3 separate regions of the Homo sapiens genome follow, and all the other regions are linked to region 2. The links are contacts of gene promoters, found by promoter capture Hi-C in human tissues and cell types (Jung and others, 2019). All regions are on one chromosome and are shown on one strand. Each heading gives the region's core, a stretch centred on a gene start or on the middle of the fragment in contact. The rest is flanking DNA. Distances are from core to core; before and after follow the strand shown.

Region 1 (4,084 bases), core at 564-3,063, 180 kb before region 2:
CCCAAAATTGCAGGGTTGTAGATGAGGCTGCCTGTGGAGAACTGGTGTGAGGAGGAAGCTGTTTCCAACAAAGAGCACTTTCATCTGTTGAGATGGCTGTGGTGAGCAACTGAACGAGCCTACGTGTGTACCTGAATTTTCCCCATAACTCATTTCTTCCATATGAAGAAACACCAAACTATGTACAGAGAACTTTTTACAAAAGGCAGACCTTTTTTAAGCTGTGTAACCCACATAGCCTAACCGTCTGGCAGAATGACTACGAATAGGGGTCATTGTGCTGGTAAAAGCCTCTATTACGACTGTTAAGTTGGATGTTGGCAAAATTAAATTGTTACAGTATTTAGAGCTGCTGTAGCTGTTCCTTCACAACATGAAATAGGATAAATGACTAGTACGTCTTTCAGGTGGGTGGCAGTCAGAACATGCGTAATATTCTCTACCTGGTCTGTAGCTGTAACTGTGATGTACAGACAAAGCAAAAATTAAAAGAACTCATGAAAACAAATAATACAATGGTATTAGGATATACACTTTTGTGTTTTTAATCTTATAGAAGGTTATTTGCTGGCTATTGTTGGCCTCTAGTTCAGCCTGTTATTTAAATTCTTTTTTTTTCTTGAGACGGAGTCTCACTCTGTCGCCCAGGCTAGAGTGCAGTGGCCTGATCTCGGCTAACTGCAACCTCCGCCTCCTGGGTTTAAGCAATTCTCTGCCTCAGCCTCCGAGTAGCTGGGATTACGAGCGCCCACAACCACATCTGGCTAATTTTTTGTATTTTTGGTAGAGACGGAGATTCACCATCTTGGCCAGGCTGATGTTGAACTCCTGACCTCGTGATCCACCCACCTTGGCCTCCCAAAGTGTTGGGATTACAGACATGAGCCACCGCGCCCGGCCTAAATTCTAATATATGAATTATTTGTATTGAATTCATGTTCGGGGCCACGTTGTTATATGTATTGATATACAGCCTTGAATGTGAATAATTACTATATATTTTACAACTTTTTTCTGGCTTTATTACAAAAACTTTCTTTTTTTTTTTTTGAGACAGACTCTCGCCCTATCACCAGGCTGGAGTGCAGTGGCGAGATCTCAGCTCACTGCAACCTCTGCCTCCCGGGTTCACGCCATTCTCCTGCCGCAGCCTCCCGAGTAGCTTGGATTACCGGCGCCCACCACCGCGCCAGGCTAATTTTTGTATTTTCAGTGGAGACCGGGCCTCACCATGTTGGCCAGCGTGGTCTCGATCTCCTGACCGCCTGATCCTCCCGCCTCGGCCTCCCAAAGTGCTGGGATTACAGGCGTGAGCCACCAGGCCCCGCCCTTATTATATAAATTTTCTATTGGGTCAATGATTTAATCATATAATTTAATGAATCTGTTCTTTTTTTCCCCCCAAATATTTGTGCTTTAGGTGTAGTTACCAGATGATGAATTTTCCTCCTATGCTCCGTAGTCTTGTAATAAAAAGCATGTACAGTGTAGACGTTTGCTGGCATGGCTCTTCCTTTGACCAGTTCATGAACTGGAGTCAGGGTGGGGGTGAAGGCTAGGGTCGAGGTCTGGGTCAGGCGCTCGTGCACCGCTCGTGGGAGGTCGAGGCTGATGTCCGCTGCTCCCCATCAGCGTTAGTGCCCAGATCACCCCGTGCTCCGCTCCCGCCGGAAGCGGGCCCAGCCTCCTGCTTTTCGGGACCGGAACTTCCGCCTACCGCGTGACGCCGGGGCGGGCGCTCTACCAGGGCGGACCTGTGGGCGGGACAGAACTCAGAGGACGCTATTAAAAGCCGGACGCTTCCGGTGGAAGGGAGCTGTTGCGGGGCTTGCTGGGATCATGGCGGAGAATCACTGCGAGCTCCTGTCGCCGGCCCGGGGCGGCATCGGGGCGGGGCTGGGGGGCGGCCTGTGCCGCCGCTGCAGCGCTGGGCTCGGCGCCCTGGCCCAGCGCCCTGGCAGCGTGTCCAAGTGGGTCCGACTCAACGTCGGCGGCACCTACTTCCTCACCACTCGGCAGACCCTGTGCCGGGACCCGAAATCCTTCCTGTACCGCTTATGCCAGGCCGATCCCGACCTGGACTCAGACAAGGTGAGGGCCTCACGGGCCAGCCCGGAGGGTCCTGGCCTTCCCGGCCTGCGGCTCCTGCACACGCCCTGCTTCGTGCGGAGGAGACTTCAGCGGGAGCGGGCGACTCTCCTCGGGCTTCGAGCCCCGCGCTCCCTTGTCGCCAGCTCCTCCCCAGCTTGCCCCGATCCCCTACCCTGGGAGGGGAGGGTGAGGATGGCGCCCTGGCGTCCACTGCCTTTGAGGATCCTGAGTCGATTCACCTTGGGGGTGTCTCTTCCTCGCCCTCTTTGCTCTTTGGTGGAGGAGGCTTCCTAGACCCCGGACTTTGCTGTGATTCTACTTTCTTTTTCTCACTAGGTTCTTTTGCCCAGGGTGTGTGAACGCCTTCTCTTCTCTGTCCCAGGGTACTTGCTGGCTCTGGAAACAGAACCCTTGGCGTTGTTTCACATTCTGGACGTTTGAATTAACGCTGACGTGGGGGTTGATATGGGCGGCCCTTTTTTTCCCTGGTGACTTGCATTTAGAGAGTTGGCGCTCCATCCTTTCCATCCACAGCACGCAGCACCCACTCAGCACCTCTTAGAAGATGCGTCCGTAGTATATAGTATGATTTTTCGAAGGGGATTTTGCTCATATTAAGGGTTGCTTTAGGGATGTCCAGGAAGGGTCAGGTAAGGAATCTTTCAATCTGCTTTCTAATTGGCTTAGTTTTCCCACTGTCTTCGCAAAAGGACAGGAATTTCCAGGTTAGTTTGCAGCTTGTCTTTCATCAAGCGAAATGCTCATGCTGTTGGGTAGATGGTAATAGAAACCTTTTGCTACCTTTATTTATCAAGAGTTGTGGAGCCGAGGAACCGTGTCTTGGGAGTTGTGCAGGATTGAAACTCACAAAAAAGCCTGTTTGAAGAAGTTGTTACCTATATTTATTCAAGGCAGTTCACAAGCCTTATACTAACTTTGCGGGGTCTTTCAGTTGAGCTTACATGACTGCGCTTGGCTTTGTGCCTTGGCAGCCAACATTTGCCATGCAGGAGGCTTCCCAGAAAGGTTCGGATCCCTCTTCAAGTTTGAGAAGCCTGACTGAGACCATTCTCAGCATGGCATGACCGTGATCAGGAAGTGAGAATCTGGAGTTACTGCTAAGGCAGCCTTGTGGGTGGAAATGAGGGTTTGAGATGCCAACCCTCCTGTGCCTCCCCACAACTTCCAACTGTTTCCATTGCTCATTTGACCAAGCCCTCTACTCAGAGAATTGACCTCCCAGGAAATGACAGTCATCCCCAGGATAGAAATAGGCGTTTGTTAGCTGTGATTTTCCTTTTATAAGTGTGGGTGTATGTTTTACTGTTTGGTTTTTCTTTTTAAATAACAGGGCTTAGTGGTCACTCCCTTGCCTTTCTACTCAAGCATTCCTGTTTTGTATATGAAATTAGAGTTTAAATTGCTCTTGTCCATTGGGTTCTTTGAGGCAATGGTTGTCTATTCAGCACTGGAGCACTTGATTCCCAGTTGATGAACTTTAGCACAGTTAAGGTGGTTGATCCCTTTGCTTTACTGTTCCTTAAGACTTTGTTAAAAATTATGGGCCAGGCGCGGTGGCTCATGCCTGTAATCCCAACACTTTGGGAGGCCCAGGCAGGTGGATCTCGTTCAAAACCAACCGGGCCAATATGGTGATGCCCGGTCTCTACTAAAAATACAAAAAGGTGGGCGCGGTGGCTCACGTCTGTAATCCCAGCACTTTGGGAGGCCGAGGCAGGCGGATCACGAGGTCAGGAGATCGAGACCATCCTGGCTAACATGATGAAACTCTGTCTCTACTAAAAATACAAAAAATGAGCCAGGCGCGGTGGCGAGCACCTGTAGTCCCAGCTACTAGGCAGTCTGAGGCAGGAGAATGGCGTGAGCCTGGGAGGAGGAGCTTGCAGTGAGCCTAGTTAGCGCCACTGCAGTCCAGCCTGGGTGAAAGAGCAAGACTCCATCACAAAAAAAAAAAAATAAAAAAAAAATAAGC
Region 2 (4,101 bases), core at 80-2,579:
GAGGATGGCTGAGGGCAAGAGAAGGAAACGGTTAGGCCGGTGAGGGGCCCCAGGACACAGTGGTGAGGGGCCCTCAACGCCCAGTGAGGAAGGCCCCCAACACCCAGTAAGAAGGGATCCCAGTGCCCAGTGAGGTGGAGGTCCCAGCACCCAGTGAGGAGGGTCCCTCAGCGCCCAGTGAGGAGGGGTCCCAGCACCCCCTGAGGAGGGTCCCTCAGCGCCCAGTGAGGAGGGGTCCCAGTACCCAGTGAGGAGGGTCCCTCAGCGCCCAGCGAGAAGCCCCCAGCACCCAGTGAGAAGGGGTCCAGTGCCCAGTGGGAAGGGGTCCCAGCACCCAGTGAGGAGGGGTCCCCAGCGCCCAGTGAGGAGGGCTCCCCAGCGCCTAGTGAGGAGGGTTCCCCAGCGCCCAGTGAGGAGGGGTCCCCAGCGCCCAGTGAGGAGGGCTCCCCAGCGCCCAGTGAGGAGGGGTCCCCAGCGCCCAGTGACGAGGGGGTCCCAGCGCTCAGTGAGGAGGGGGTCCCAGCGCCCAGTGAGGAGGGGTCCCAGCGCCCAGTGAGCAGGCGTCCCAGCGCCCAGTGAGGAGGGGGTCCCCTTGAGTACCTGGTGGTGAGGAACCTCTAGCCCTCCAGTGCCCAGGGAGACTCTCAAGTCTCTCAACCCCAGGGCCCCTACCGGCGGGGCATTTCCTGGGGCCTGGCCAGGCCCTGGCTGCACAGCTGTGACCCTGCCCTCCCGCAGCTTCCCGTCCAGCCTGCCTTCCGGGGACCAGGACCGGCTCCTCGAGGGAGGCACAGACCTGAGCCCCTCGGCTCTGGACGCTGCTGCCGCTGGTGTGCCCTCCCCTGACCTCCTGCGGCAGGAACAACACAAAACGGTGCTTCCCCAGAGGCAAGCAGCGGAGGACGAGGAGATGGGAGAACACGGAGGCGAGAGGGAGCAGGCGATGGCGACGCCGACGGTAACTGGAGACCGAGGCGCGCTGCGTACTTGCTGCGTTTTCTGTTTCATCCTCACAGCCGTAGAAGAAACCGAGGCACAGAGCAGTTAAGGAGCAAGAGATAAACAGAGCAGAAGCGGAAAGGAGATGAGAGAGGCAAGGCCAGGAGGGAGAGAGGGAGGGAGGGAAGGAGGGAAGGAGGGTGGAGGTGAGAGGGAGGAGGGAGGAGCAGCCTCCGGACGTACCTGTCGACGCCAGCAGCAGCAGGGAGGTGAAGGTGCCGAGACAGCCCCCACCCAGGGCTGGGGGCGCTCCAGAAACCACCATGGCTGGTGGGGCGGGGGAGCAGGCAGCAGGCTCGAGAGACCCAGGGCGATGCGGGTCAGGGTGTGTAGGTTCCCTGCAGGTCGCCCCAGGTTTTATCCTGGGAGGCGGAATGCCGTCAGACCAGTCCCCAGGTGGCTCCCGCGGCCACCCCGGCTGTGGGTCCTGGGCAGAGGGCGGGGCTGCGGGGAGGAAGCCAGCCGCTACAGGGCTCTGGGGGGGCTCTAGCTGAGACCCCAGGATGTGGCCTCTGGAAGGGCAGGGGAGGGGGCTTGGGCCCAGAGGTCCCTGACATTAATTGTCCAGGGGCAGAGAAAGGTGCCAGGGCACTGAAAGGAAGGGGTTCCGGGCTGGGGAGGGCCTGGGTTTGGAGAGGCTGAAGTCTGGGGTACTGGGTGTTGGGGGTGGTCCTAGGGCCTTAGGGATCAAGGGGGTGCCCAAAGCTCAGTAACGGCTCCCACCTGCAGGGCCCCAGGCCCCTGTGACTCAGCCCAGAGACCTGGCGCAACCCGGGCTTGGGAATCCCGTTAACCCACTTCCCGAAAGCTGTGAATCAGGTGAGTGGCGACCTTGGTGGCCTCCTGGTGGCCGCCCTCCTGTCGTTCCTGGAGGCGGGGCTCTGCCCTGCGGTTCAGACACCTGACAACTCACCTCACCTGGACTCCTGGGAAGGGGAGGAGCCCATGGGCACCAGGGCTCGGCCAAGCAGGGGGGTTGAGAGAAGAGGGGCCCCGGGAAGGGCTGGGACTCCCAGGATTCAAAGAGCTGCTGGGCTGGGCTGTGGGGGGCCGGGTCCTGGGCTGGGAGTGGATTCTCGGTGCTTCCCCCCAGCGGCTGCCACAGTGGCAACCCGGGGCTGAATCCTGTGAGACCTTCCCTGACTCAGTGCCCTGCAGCGCCCCACACTTGGGACACTCCCACCCAAGCAGGGCAGGCTTCCTCCTCTACAAAGAGGCAGGAGCCTGCGCCCCTTCACTCATTCGATCAACAAGCCTCCAGCAGGGCCCTTGCTACCGCCGGGGGTGAATTAAAAACAACCATAGTGTCTGGGTGGGGTGGCTTATTCCTGTAATCCCAGCACTTTGGGAGGCCAAGACGGACAGATCATGAGGTCAGGAGTTCAATACCAGTCTGGCCAACATAGTAAAACCCCGTCTCTACTAAAAATACAAAAAAAAAAAAATTAGCCAGGCATGGTGGCAGGCGCCCTTAGTCCCATCTACTTGGGAGGCTGAGGCAGGAGAATCGCTTGAACCTGGGAGGCGGAGGTTGCAGTGAGCTGAGATCACGCCACTGCACTCCAGCCTGGGCGACAGAGCGAGACTCTGTTTCAAAAAAAAAAAAAAAAAACCATAGTAGTGAATATGTATGTAATAAATATATTTATACAAATATAAATATAGTATTTATATAATAGAGCAAACATTTAGGAGTGCCATGCATTGCCTCCTAATCCTCAAATGTCTTTATTATTCCCACTCTGCAGATAAGGAAACTGAGGCAGCTTAGGGCGGTTAAGTGACTTGCCCGAGATTGCTGGGTGAGTGGTGGAGCCGGACCTGCACCCCAACACTGGGGGTGGCTGCTGGGACTGCCCTCATGGAGGCTTCGGGAGCCTGGAGGAGGTGCCTCACCCTGCCTGGGGTGAGCCCTAACTTGCTCCCTGCAGAGTCAGGGTGGCGTGGGTCAGGGGCTTAGCAGACCACCATGGCTGCTTCAGGGACTCCATGGCTCTGAGCAGGACGGGTTTTGCCCTGGGGGTGGACTCTGTGCTGCCCACCTCCTCAGTCTGTTAAGGGTTAGGGTGGCAGCAGGACGACTGGCACTTTCTCGTGGCAGAGAGGCCATGCCCTGCTCCACCGAGAGACAAGTCAAACAGCAGGGCCCTGGGGAGCCCCAGAGGATGCATTATTCTCTGTCCCAGGACTCAGAGGGGGTTTGGGGGAACTGCAGGAAAAGGCCACGCAGAGTGGCCAAGGAGGGGCAGTGTCTCTGAGCAGCAGCAGCACTGCAGCAGAAATTTCTGCTGGGCTCCCCCAACCCTACTCACTGTCCCCCGCTCAGCTCTGCACCCAGGGCGTCCAGGGCCCTCCTGCGCCCCACCCCACTGCCTTCTGGAATAAGGTGGGTGGCCTCTCCAGCTCACCCAGCAAACATATATTGAGTACCTGCTGTATGTCAGGCCCTGGTGGGCACCAGGACACATGTGATGAATAAGACGCAGGTCCTGTGCTCAGGAAGCACATGACCTCCTAGGGGTGGGAGGCAGATGACGGATGACAGGGAGGTGTCCGGGAGGTGGGCACAGAACCATGGGACCAGGCGGTGGCTTGGACCCTAGAGGGCCACTGTGAAGCTGGGTGCTGGGGAAACAGTGTGGGCAGGGGGGCTCCCTGTGGACCCCCAGGATCATATTCAGTGCCTGCTGCACCCTGGGGCTCAGCGAGTGTTTGTTGAATGTATAAATGAGTGTGGAAGAAGCAAGTCTGCAAGTGGCTGGGGACCGACCACTCCAGCCTCCCTCTCTGCCTCCCGCCCAGGTTTCCTCTCCATTCCAGCTTTTCTGCCTTTCTGAAGAGCCAGCTCACTGCCCTGGATACCCAAGGGTAGCCATGGGCCCTGCCCAAGATGCCGCTATCCCTGAGACAGGGTGGCCAGGAAGAGAGCCCCGAGGAGAAGGACCTGGTAGGAGCAGGGGGAAGCCCTGAGGAGCTGGGTGAAGATTTCCTGGCACAAGTCCTGGGGAAGGGCCCCAGACAGCAGTTCCTCAATTCCCAGGGTATAGAGGGTGGAGTCTCTGAAAGGCCACGGGGTGGAGACCCTGGCATGATTCAACATTC
Region 3 (4,195 bases), core at 1,566-4,065, 200 kb before region 2:
ACCTGGAAGGAAAAAAACCCTAACAGAACAAGTTTAGTATGAATTTCTTACTACCACCAACTTCTTTGGCATGTTTTGTCCAAAAGGTCTCAGAGTTTGGATGCAAACCCAGCCTCCCAGCAGAAGCCAGCTGTATCAGGCGAGTGCAGGCCGCCTAGAGGTCCTCCAGGCCCACACGAAGAGCGCGTCCCACTCAGAACCTCCCCCACTGGAGGCCGATTCCCTGCTCAGGCAACCCAGACCTCCCCGAGTCGCCACCCCAGCCAGGAGAGCTCCTCCCCTGCTAGTCCACGTTGGGGCCCAGACTCTGCCCGGCTCTCTGAAGCAGCCCCACAAAGGCCGGTCACCCTCTCCTGCTCAGACACTAACTACCCTCCCTCTATGGGCACCATCTGCAACGGCCGTGCTATTGACTGTTTCCCTTCTGCCCCTGGGGCTCAGAGAGGGACAGGAGCATCAGGTGGACCGTCCCCCTTCAAGCTGTAGAAGCCATCTTTTTCACACAACATTTCCTCAGGCCAGGAGCATGGGGCCCGTTCTGTTCATAACCACTTTTCCTAAACCAACCGGGGCCGTCCTCACCCTTTCTGCCCCAGGCACAAAGCTCAGCGCCAGCAGCATCTGCACAGGAGAGCTTGCTAAGATTTTTTTTTAAGCATCATTTTGAGCTTCCGACTTTTTACGGAATGAGAACGCAATGCGTTCACCAAGAAAATCTATATTCAGATGCACATTTTAAACTAGATATCTGATAATAACCAGGTACGTACATACAATCAAAAGACTGTAATTCTGACCGATGGAAAAAAGCCATGAAAGACAAATGCCAGCCTGCAGGAAGAACATGTGAGTTACCCATGGAAAAGCAGCCGGAAGCGCTCCGAGCATCTGAGCGTCTGAGCCCGTGCTCTGAAGGAGCTGTGTACTCCCTCAGCCTGGCGTCCAGAGTCAGGCCCAACTGGGAGAGAGAAACGCAGACGAACCTAGCGCTCGCCCTCAGGAAGGACCCCCGATGAGGTCCACATGGGGGGAAATGAACAGCCGTCAGCCTTCCTAGCTCGTAAGTTGGGAGCCTGCTCACTAACCTGCCTCCCCAGGGTCTGGCTGCTGCGGCTCTCCAGATCAAACCTTCCCAAGAACAGGGCTGAGCAAAGCCAGCGCTCCATTCTTCCAAAGACTGATCTGTCCCCATCCTTTCCCACAGGGGAAGTCCAAGCAGTGCTGTGTGCCAGCCAGCACTGGCACACGGTGGGTCTGAAGGTCAATTAGCCCCGCCCCCACCGAGGTCGGAGAGCTCTCACTCACTGAGCCCTGGGCCTGGGTGCACAGCGGGGACTCTGAGACAGGTGGGCTGCTGAGATCCTCACTGCTGGGCTCCCCAAGGACCATCAGTCACACAACCATCCTGGGGATATAGCTGCAGCTCTACAGGTGGCTGCACCCACCCACAGAGCACACGTCCCTTTTGCCGCCACAGGACACCTTAGAAGCTACAGCAAAGTCAAGGCCTAGGAAAAGCCTCATGGCACCTTGCTCAAGCAGGATACAGACCACGAAAGCAGGGCCCCGCTGTCAGGAGGGAAAAGCAGTGTAAAGTCAGAAGGGCCACTAAGGGATACTGGGCATGGTGCAGAGATTGGGCATGGTGGCTCATGCCTCTAATCCCAGCACTTTGGGAGGCCAAGTTGGGTGGATCATGTGAGGTCAGGAGTTCAACACCAGCGTGACCAACATGGTGAAACCCTGCCTCTACTAAAAATACAAAAATTAGGCTGGGTGCAGTGGCTCACGCCTGTAATCCCAGCACTTTAGGAGGCCAAGGAGGCTGGATCACGAGGTCAGGAGTTCAAGACCAGCCTGGCCAATATGGTGGAAACGCGTCTCTACTAAAAATACAAAATTAGCCAGGCATGGTGACGCATGCCTGTAATCTCAGCTACTCAGGAGGCTGAGGCAGGAGAATGGCGTGAAACTGGGAGGCGGATGTTGCAGTGAGCCAAGATCGTGCCACTGCACTCCAGGCTGGGTGACAAGTTTGAGACTCCATCTCAAAAAAAAAAAAAAAAAAGATTAGCTAGGTGTGGCGGCACAGGCCTGTAGTCCCAGCAACTCAGGAGGCTAAGGCTGGGGGATGGCTTGAGCCCAGGGGAGTTCAAGGCTGCAGTGAGCTATGATCACACCACTGCATTCCAGTTTGGGCAACAGAGTAAAACTGTCTCTATAAAGGACTTTGAGGAGGACTGGGGACCACTGAGGAAGGCTGCATGTCACCTTTGCATTAGAAAATGCCATGTTATGATAAAACTCCATCTCTACTAAAAATACAAAAATTAGCCAGGCACGGTGGTACACACTTGTAGTCCCAGCCACTTGGGAGGCTGAGGCAGGTGAATCACTTGAACCCAGGAGGTGGAGGTTTCAATGAGCCAAAATCAAAGTACTGCACTCCAGCCTGGGCAACAGCATGAGATTCCATCTCAAAAAAACAAAAAAAAAAAAAAAAAGAAAATGCAATGTTAATTCTATCTCGGATGTGATAATGATGAGGTTGTAGAGGAGACAGCTTCTGAGCTCAGAAGGCACCTGGAGAAGGATTCTGGGGTGAAATGCTATCATGTGTGTGACTTACTTTCAAATAATAAAAATAATAGAAAAAAATTTGGGGAGGTGAGAGGGTAACATATACAAGCAAATATGGAAAAGGTTAACAACTGGTAGAATCCAGGTGAAAGGCTAGGGATATTCATTGTACTATGCGTTCAACTCTTCTTTAGTTTTGAAATTTTTCAGAATAAAAATTAGTGGAGAAAGGTTCATCTTCAGTCCAGTAAGCTCCAGGAGACAGAGCCAGACCTACCTTATTCACCACTGTTTCTCCACTGCTAGCACAATGCCTGGTCCTTATCCCACTGGCCCAGGAAACCACTGCTAATGTTTCTGTGGGAACCTCCCTCCAAGCTTTTCCCTGGGCCTGAGGAAAGTTATACTGGGCATGCTGCTTTGCAGCCAGCTCTTTTCAGATAGAAATACTTTGTAACCACCTGTCAGGAGAGTACAGTCTGCCATCCCCATCCATAGGTTGACTCCACATGCATGGATTCAACCAACAGTGGATAGAAAATATTAGAAAAACAAGAAATTGCATCTGTACTGAACATGCACAGACTTTTTTTCTTGTCATTATTCCCTAAAGAATATAGTAAAGCAACTATTTACATAGCATTTACATTACATTAGGCATTATATGTAATCTGGTGATGACAGAGTACACAGGAGGGTGTGCACAGATTATATGCAAACACTATACCACTTCAGAGCAAGGGCTTCAGCACCCTCCGACTCTGGTATCTGAGAGAGGTCCTGGGACCAATTTCCCACAGATCCTGAGGGACGACACAGACTTCACCACAATGTTTCTACCTATCTCTGCCTGAGGGAAATTCAAGATATTTCCAGTTCTCCCCTATTTCAAAGCTGTGACAAATATTCTAGTAGCAAAATCTTTGCATACACTTTAATTATTTTCCGATCTTAAATTCCCAGAACGGGAACTGTTGAATCAGCCTGTGTTTGAACACGCGCTGGCAACTGACTGCTGCCCCACCTCAGCAACGACAGGCGCTTACGTTCCCACCTGTACTGAGTTCCAGCTTCCATCTACAAATGCCAGATATTGCCACTTTCACTGCAATGCACTCCAGCCTGGGCGACAGAGCAAGATTCTGTCTCAAAAACAAAAAACAAAAAACCCAGCAGATTGGTCAGAAAAGACTGTACAGCCACAGGGGTTTCCATGTAGGGAAATTTCTCTAGGCAAGGAGGAAAAGCCTGAAGAAGACAAGAACTGCTGAGAACAGGGCAGCAGGGAACATCCTGGACCCACCTGGGCCGCACAGGCTGGAAAGAGAGGCCGTGGCCGGGCATCCGAGCCTGGGCCCCTCACAGAGGAGGAACAAAGTGACAGGCCAGGAGAGGAGGGGAAGATGCAGGAGTGCTGGCATCTGGGGACCAGCCAGCAAGTCCTTGGAGCCCTCCCTCACCAGAAAAGGGGAAGCAGGAAGGACAGCGGCAATGGCCAGAGTGAGGAGAATGCAGCGTCCTGCAGCTCCATGGAGTGAGCGCCTCCTTCACGGAGCAGCCCTGGCCGCCCTGCAACTGAGGCCGCGGCACCGAGGGTCCCGCCAATGCAGCAAGG

Evidence for each region. Contacts are between HindIII fragments. The study calls those that stand out against the background at their distance.
Region 1: a contact is called between the fragment with the promoter of KCTD5 here and the fragment with the promoter of PRSS22 in region 2, in 4 of the 25 tissues and cell types used here (IMR-90 fibroblasts, aorta, lymphoblastoid cells and 1 more).
Region 3: a contact is called between a fragment that was not itself captured here and the fragment with the promoter of PRSS22 in region 2, in 2 of the 25 tissues and cell types used here (dorsolateral prefrontal cortex and spleen).

Annotation. Positions count from the first base shown.
Region 1 is chr16:2,680,710-2,684,793 of GRCh38, forward strand. KCTD5 (potassium channel tetramerization domain containing 5) reads left to right here and starts at 1,814. Exons shown (of 6, transcript NM_018992.4): 1 at 1,814-2,091. The coding sequence starts at 1,840. RefSeq lists a silencer at 1,897-2,076 and enhancers at 2,172-2,782, 2,327-2,376, 2,447-2,496. The HindIII fragment of the contact is 14,940 bases long and covers 1-4,084 here.
Region 2 is chr16:2,856,841-2,860,941 of GRCh38, forward strand. It overlaps PRSS22 (serine protease 22), which reads right to left and starts at 1,330. Exons shown (of 6, transcript NM_022119.4): 1 at 1,183-1,330; 2 at 1-8. The coding sequence starts at 1,264. RefSeq lists enhancers at 715-1,315, 1,316-1,916, 1,917-2,516. The HindIII fragment of the contact is 21,792 bases long and covers 1-4,101 here.
Region 3 is chr16:2,653,903-2,658,097 of GRCh38, forward strand. No RefSeq gene overlaps it. Among named protein-coding and RNA genes, the nearest start is that of FLJ42627, 17 kb to the left of the region's middle. RefSeq lists an enhancer at 1-745. The HindIII fragment of the contact is 7,363 bases long and covers 1-4,195 here.